Regions from separate parts of the Homo sapiens genome. Here region 2 is linked to region 1. Evidence: promoter capture Hi-C in human tissues and cell types (Jung and others, 2019). All regions are on one chromosome and are shown on one strand. The core of a region is centred on a gene start or on the middle of the fragment in contact, and the rest is flanking DNA. Distances in the headings are between cores, read along the strand shown. Region 1 holds the start of KCNU1 (potassium calcium-activated channel subfamily U member 1). Region 2 overlaps KCNU1 (potassium calcium-activated channel subfamily U member 1).

The links. Contacts are between HindIII fragments. The study calls those that stand out against the background at their distance.
Region 2: a contact is called between a fragment that was not itself captured here and the fragment with the promoter of KCNU1 in region 1, in 1 of the 25 tissues and cell types used here (liver).

Annotation. Positions count from the first base shown.
Region 1 is chr8:36,783,090-36,787,128 of GRCh38, reverse strand. It overlaps KCNU1 (potassium calcium-activated channel subfamily U member 1), which reads right to left and starts at 2,755. Exons shown (of 27, transcript NM_001031836.3): 1 at 2,524-2,755. The coding sequence starts at 2,718. The HindIII fragment of the contact is 3,588 bases long and covers 2,205-4,039 here.
Region 2 is chr8:36,828,347-36,832,211 of GRCh38, reverse strand. All of the region lies in intron 10 of KCNU1 (potassium calcium-activated channel subfamily U member 1), which reads right to left. Among named protein-coding and RNA genes, the nearest start is that of KCNU1, 46 kb to the right of the region's middle. The HindIII fragment of the contact is 6,698 bases long and covers 1-3,865 here.

The DNA.
Region 1 (4,039 bases), core at 1,506-4,005:
TTGCATTTTCCTGGTTTTCTGCACAGCTTTTTTTCTACTGAATTCTGCAGTCTTCCTCCATGTCTTTCTCATGTATACCCGGTCCCAGACCCTTCAAACTGCCATCATTGCAATGATCAGAATTGGGAGCATCATGCCTCCTTCTGCTCTGGGTATAAGTGTAGCAGTTTTCATCAAGATACGTGGACAAAGAGAAAAAGATTACAAATTGATTTTTTAGCTGATTACTTAAGTGTCCGCATTTTGTGAGAGAAGGGGGAAGTTTTCAGCAATTTTGTGTTGCTCTTAGTTTTTTGCCTGGTGTTATATTCTGAAATTATAATCCTTCCTCACATTTATAGAATGTCTTTACTTATTATATTTAAATGTTACGGTAATCTCATATGATAAAGTTAGGCATGACTAAATACATTTTATATTGATGTGGATACCAAGGTATAGAGAAATTAAATGACTTTCCTAATATCAGGCAATGAGGAAAGGCTGGGGCCTGAGCTGGCATTCATTGTTTGTTGATAATAGTCTAGAACCACCACAAAGAAATACACAAACCAACTAGGACTACCCACACCAAGCTAGATGAGTCCCTCTGACTTTCAAAAAAGCTCATTTTATATGAAGCCAGGATTTCAAAATCACTTAATTTTTCTACTCATATTTTCTGAATGATAAAAAGGGAAGTCTCATTAAAAAACTCTTTGATAAAAGTTCACATCCTGATCAATGATTTGCCCTCTAATAAACATGACTCATGTCGGTTTCTAAATGTTGTCTGAGAATTAATTTTAAAAAATCCTAGGTATGACATTAATATAGAATACTCATTTGAATTCCATCATAAAATTGGAGCTACCTTCTGTGGAAAAACAAATTGGTCCTAAGATATAATAAACTCATATTTATAGATGTAATACATGTTTTAAATGCACATTTAAGGAGAGAAATTGTAACTCTCCAAATAATTTTTAAAATAACTCTTCACAGTACACCTAGATTTCTGATTTTTTTTTTTTTTTGCATTTGTCCAACTTCTCCAAAGGCTTAGAGAAAAACAGGTCACTCTTAATTTGATGTAATAAAACAAATCATTGAAAAGTAACTCAACTTGATCAAACTCTTTCCTCAAGATTCAAAAGCAGAATGGTACAGCATTCTGGTTGCTCAGGCTCACTTCTTAACATTTTGTAACATTTGCTAAATATTTGTAATTAAAGGGTATACCTGGATCGAAGTGTAGACATAAATTACACCCAAAGTAAGAAATGAAAAATATAGGAAATTGACAAATGTACTGTCACATTTTTGTAATCACACAAAATGAACATAATGGAGAAGAAGAACATTGCCTGGAGCAGAAGACTAAGAAGATTTAAAAATCCTACAAATTCAGTTGTGCATTAACAACAACAAAACAAGGTAGAAACAAGGAGGCAGATCCATCATAGCTATTTACCCATATGTCAGTATCCCAGAATTCTTTCTCCAATTATTGTGCCACAGCTTAAAATCCATAATGTAGAAATAATCAATAGAATAAACTTGTTTAGGAACAAAATCTATAAGCTTCAGTATTGGATAATTTTCAAATATGGAAAACAAAATTCCATATTACCAATAACTTTAAAAACTTATCAATTTATGAATTATATTTTATGTAGGTTTTAGCACTAAAAGAAATGTTTTAAGCAAATTTTCAATATTATGATGCACAGGTGAAATGTGTTGTGTTATGGAAATTGCTATAATCTATCAGAGAAAGAAAGTTTGGGAAGCAAAATTGGAAACAAACTACACAGGGTATAGTAAAACTCTTCACCTTTGACCTCTGGTAATAGAACATCCATTACACAGCATTTGAGAGCTTTATTTCAAGCTCTTAAGCAATGCCTTATCTGTATAATACATCATTTATTCTCATCATCATCATTTGCCAGCTGTTATTCAACAACATCAACTCCTGCTAAGCTTGTTTGGGTATAAGAAATGTCCTTGCATCTATGCCTGGATGGCACAGGCATGTATGCATGGGCTTCTCTGTGTATGTGCAACTCAATGTGTTGTCTTCATATGGTATACAAAAGGCAATGTACACGTCAGTACATATGCATTATGCATGAACAATTTATGAAAGCAAGGTTGATGTTGATGTCTTGTTCCCTTTCACCTCCTTTCTATGACCTAGCACAATTGTCTTGTTAAAATTCGAGATAGAGGCATGGACATAATGTTTATGAACTTTTTTTCAGAACAGTGACCTCTGTTTCCAGAGCTAACATTAATCATTATCCATACAAGACATTGCTTTTTCCAGTGATGGGAGAGAGAAGAGGCTTGGCCCTGTCTCTTCAGGCCTCAGAATGTGGCCTGAGGTCTGGCTTACCACCCTTTCTGAGGCACCAGGCTATAGAAGCTGACTCTGTTAGCTTGAAAAACTGAATGAAGCTTAGATCTTTTACTAAACACAAAACTACCCCAAACTCATCTCTGACTTCACACAGAGGGATCCCTAACAAGGAAACTGACCAAGATAATTCCTGTTCCCTTGATGATTTGCCATTTTTTAACAGATCTCCAGATCAGCCTGAAGATCAACAGGATGATGAGTCCACTGAAGAAGGTCACAAAGGAAGAGAGAATGAATGCTGCTTGGATCTCAGTTGTGCAGGACATTTTTGGCAAGTCTTCCCAAGTTTCATTTCGTAGCTTAGTCTGAAACATGTTCGAGACATCAGTAGACGGAATTGCCAGGTCATTTGATGACGCCGTGGTCGCCTGGTAACAATTCCAGGAATCAGAGTTCACTGTACCACAGTGTTCCAACATTAGGCGTGATAACCAGTGAGAAGTTCCAGGAACAAGGGTCTGCCAATCCCCCGGTGCCAGCTCATGGGTTGTGAATGAATACACAACTGGAGATGGCTGGGGCCTACAATATGAATAGTCAAAAAAATCATAATTCTAGATCGGATTGTTACGACTTTCTCTATGCCTTGAAGAAATCCCATTATCTGTAGCAATGATCAGCTGGTTATCAGTTCAGTTAATGCAGTCAAATAATTTCAAATCAACTCTTTCGGAGTGAAACAACAGCCAACTATGTGTGTGAATGAGTTGGTTCTCTATCTGGGAGGATGCCACGTGCTTAGTAGGCTTGGAAGGACAGAAGAGAGAAGTACTTTAAAGTTTTTGTTTATCCTTTATACAAAGGAGCAGATATGCAGAATGAATAAGTCTAGAAGATCTAGTGTGCAGAACAAAGAACATAATTAATAAAATTATTTGTATTCAGGATTTTTGCTAAAAGAGTAGATTTTAAGGGCTCTTGTTACACGCACACAAAAGATGATTAACTCTGTGAGATGATAGATATATGAATTTGCTTGACTGTAGTCACTGCTTCACTATGCATAAGTTTATCAAAAGAGCATTTTGCGTTTGTACTTGTATGCGGAAGCTAAAACAGTGGATCTCATAAAGATAGAGAGTAGATTCATGGTTACGAGATGCCGGGAAGGGTGGCTGAGGAAAGAAGTTGGATAAAGAGAAGTTGATTAATGGGTACAAATATTTGGTTTGATAGAAGAAATAACATCTAATGTTCTATAGATCAGTGAAGTGACTATAGCTTATGATAATCTATTGTACATTTAAAAATAGCTAGAAGAGAAAAATTTGAATGTTTCTAGCACAAAGAAAATACAAATATGTAAGTTGATTGATATCCCAAGTACACAAATTATGTGAATGTATTAAATTATCACGTGACTTGAAAATATGTGTATCTGCTGTGCATCAATCCAAAGAATATCACGTTGTACTCCTTAATTACACACAATGAAAATCAAGATTATCTTGAAACAGAAAAAAAAAGGTTTTGTTTATTCTTTACATAAGAAAGGCATAGTATAGAGTGCAGGTATTGAAGAAGACAATTTAACTAGTGTGGTCATTGGTTGATTGTTATTTCAGCCCATAAATCCATTCCACTTATCTCTTCTTTATGGAACTCTCCCCTTTCTTGCTTTTATTACTGCCCTGG
Region 2 (3,865 bases), core at 441-2,940, 46 kb before region 1:
ACAAAGCTGGAGGCATCACACTACCTGACTTCAAACTATACTACAAGGCTACAGTAACCAAAACAGCATGGTACTGGTACCAAAACAGAGATATAGATCAATGGAACAGAACAGAGCCCTCAGAAATAACGCTGCATATCTGCAACTATCTGATCTTTGACAAACCTGAGAAAAACAAGCAATGGAAAAAGGATTCCCTATTTAATAAATGGTGCTGGGAAAACTGGCTAGCCATATGTAGAAAGCTGAAACTGGATCCCTTCCTCACACATTATACAAAAAATCAATTCAAGACGGATTAAAGACTTAAACGTTAGACCTAAAACCATAAAAACCCTAGAAGAAAACCTAGGCATTACCATTCAGGACACAGGCATGGGCAAGGACTTCATGTCTAAAACACCAAAAGCAATGGCAACAAAAGCCAAAATTGACAAATGGGATCTAATTAAACTAAAGAGCTTCTGCACAGCAAAAGAAACTACCATCAGAGTGAACAGGCAACCTACAAAATGGGAGAAAATTTTCACAACCTACTCATCTGACAAAGGGCTAATATCCAGAATCTACAATGAACTCAAACAAATTTACAAGAAAAAAACAAACAACCCCATCAAAAAGTGGGCAAAGGACATGAACAGACACTTCTCAAAAGAAGACATTTATGCAGCCAAAAAACACATGAAAAAATGCTCACCATCACTGGCCATCAGAGAAATGCAAATCCAAACCACAATGAGATACCATTTCACAGCAGTTAGAATGGCAATCATTAAAAAGTCAGGAAACAACAGGTGCTGGAGAGGATGTGGAGAAATAGGAACACTTTTACACTGTTGGTGGGACTGTAAACTAGTTCAACCATTGTGGAAGTCAGTGTGGCGATTCCTCAGGGATCTAGAACTAGAAATACCACTTGACCCAACCATCCCATTACTGGGTATATACCCAAAGGACTATAAATCATGCTGCTATAAAGACACATGCACACGTATGTTTATTGCGGCATTATTCACAATAGCAAAGACTTGGAACCAACCCAAATGTCCAACAATGACAGACTGGATTAAGAAAATGTGGCACATATACACCATGGAATACCATGCAGCCATAAAAAATGATGAGTTCATGTCCCTTGTAGGGACATGGATGAAATTGGAAATCATCATTCTCAGTAAACTATCGCAAGAACAAAAAACCAAATACTGCATATTCTCACTCATAGGTGGGAATTGAACAATGAGAACACATGGACACAGGAAGGGGAACATCACACTCTGGGGACTGTTGTGGGGTGGGGGGAGGGGGGAGGGATAGCATCGGGAGATATACCTAATGCTAGATGACGAGTTAGTGGGTGCAGCGCACCAGCATGGCACATGTATACATATGCAACTAACCTGCACATTGTGCACATGTACCCTAAAACTTAAAGTATAATAATAATAAATAAATTAAAAAAAAGAAAAAAATCTCTCAAAACACAACACACACACACACAAACACAAACCTACACATCCAAACACACACACACACCCCTCAAATAAAATGTAGGAAACCACTAGTTCTACATGGTTTCGCGTTTAACTTCTACCATACTTTAAAGCAACCCATAATCTCATTTTTCTACAAAGCCTTTTAAAGACATTAAAAATAGGAAATACTTCCTAACCAATACTAAAAAAGACAAAATAATCATATTACCAAAAATATCCGTGAGATTCACATTAACAAATTAAAAAACAACACTTATATAATCACCTCAGACGCAGAGACAAATTGATAGAAATATTTCTTCAGAGTTAAGAAATACAACTCATGGTATATTAGAAATAGAAGATAATATTTTTAACCCAACAAATATCTTTAAAATAAAAAAGATATCTTTAATGAAAAAATATTAAAGGTGCTTTTAAAAATGAGAAGTAAAGAAAAGATATCATCACTGCTCTTTTTCAACGTTATATTTGATGTCTCAGCAATAATTATACTATTTCAGACAAATAGTTTATTTCCTTCTTTCTAATCCTTATGTGTACAATTTATGTTTTATTATAAATATTTATTTTATTTATAAAGATTTACAAATCTGGATTAATAAAGATTTATTTTATTTTATTACAAAGATAAAATAAAGATAAATTGTTTTAATGTAAATAATTATAACTACACAAATATAAATAATATAAATATAATTATTTATATGGAAACCCCTAATATTACTACAGAAAAAAATAAAATTTATGTGGTTAGATATAAGACTAATATACAAAATTTAATTGTGTTTTTCCTGTACTAAGAACAAACAACTAGTAAACCCTACTGGAAGATATTACTTTTACTAATATCAGAAAATACCAAGTACCTAGAAATAAAAGTTAGTAAGCTCTCTACCTGGGAAATTATACCACATTATTCAGGGGTACTAAAGGAGAACTAAATAAATGAATAAACCCAGCATAGTAAAAGTTGGAAAGAGTTTGTAGCATAAAGCAGTCAATGCTGCATCTAAACTTTCAATTAGATTCGCATTAAATTTCTGCAGTTTTTCATAATAAAATAATATACATGATAAAATAATTTTAAAATTTATATAAAATATAAAGGGCCAAGTAAAGCTTGTCAACTATAAAAAAAAATAAAAGGTAAAAAGACTTGCTCTAGGGATAGATAGAACTAGTTATAAAGATTTAGTAATTAAAAGACTGTAGTATTAATGCAGTAATAGAAAATTATACAAATTGTCACTCTATAAACCCCATCGTTACTCTACAAAAAATTCTAAATGAATTAGAGACATAAATGACGAAAAAAATTTAAAATTATTGGTAGGAAATGTAGTTCAACATATTTTAAACAGTGGAATAGGGAAAAAGTTTCTAAACAAAAAACAATAAGTGCTTTAATATAATAGAAAATATTCAATATTTGACTATAATAACATTAAAAACTTTTAAGCATCAGAAGATATGTAATATTCAGCAATAAGACAAATTATAAACTGAAAGAAGAAATTGCAGTTCCCACAACTGATGAAGAATTATTGCAAATAATATATTACACATCCCTAAAATTAAATAACAAAAATCACACAAAATAGTTAAGTAAAAAAATAAATAGGCAAAACACATGGATGAGTATGTCACGGAAAGAGAAAAGATGTGTGCCTAGTAAACATGGTGAAGGTCCACATCTGTAGAGCTAAAGGGCATAGAAATCAAAACCACAAGAAGGTTCCATTTGACATTGATTTCATTGCAAAGCTTAAAACATATAACCATACCAGTTGTTGGAAAGAATGTGTATGTATATATATGTGTGAAGTCTCTTACACATTCCTGATAGGCTTGCAAATGGTGCAATGACTTGGAAAAAATGACTAATGGCCTAAAAATGAACATTCACATTCTTGACACTATTAAGCACACACACGTACAAGCACAAATGCACATAAACATGCACACAGAAACACTATTTCATGTGTCCACCAGGAGCCATATACAAGCATGTTAACAACAAAACTATTTCCAATTGCAAAATATAGAAATAACACTAATCACACCAAAAGAAGAGTGGAACTGAGGGAAATGAATATCACTAACAAGAACAACCAATTAACTACAGCAACATTCAAAAATATGAAAGCATCTTACTAACATAATATAAACTGAATAAAGCCCCAAAGATTACATTGGTATGATATTCCTTCTATAAAGTTAAACATGTCTAAAGTAATATGCACATTTTAGATGTGAATATAGAGGTAATAAAACATAGGAGAAAGAAAGAATGGTAGTGATATTTAAAAAATTGACCATAGGTTGAAATATGGGGAGGATTATACAGTTAAATATAGATTATTGTC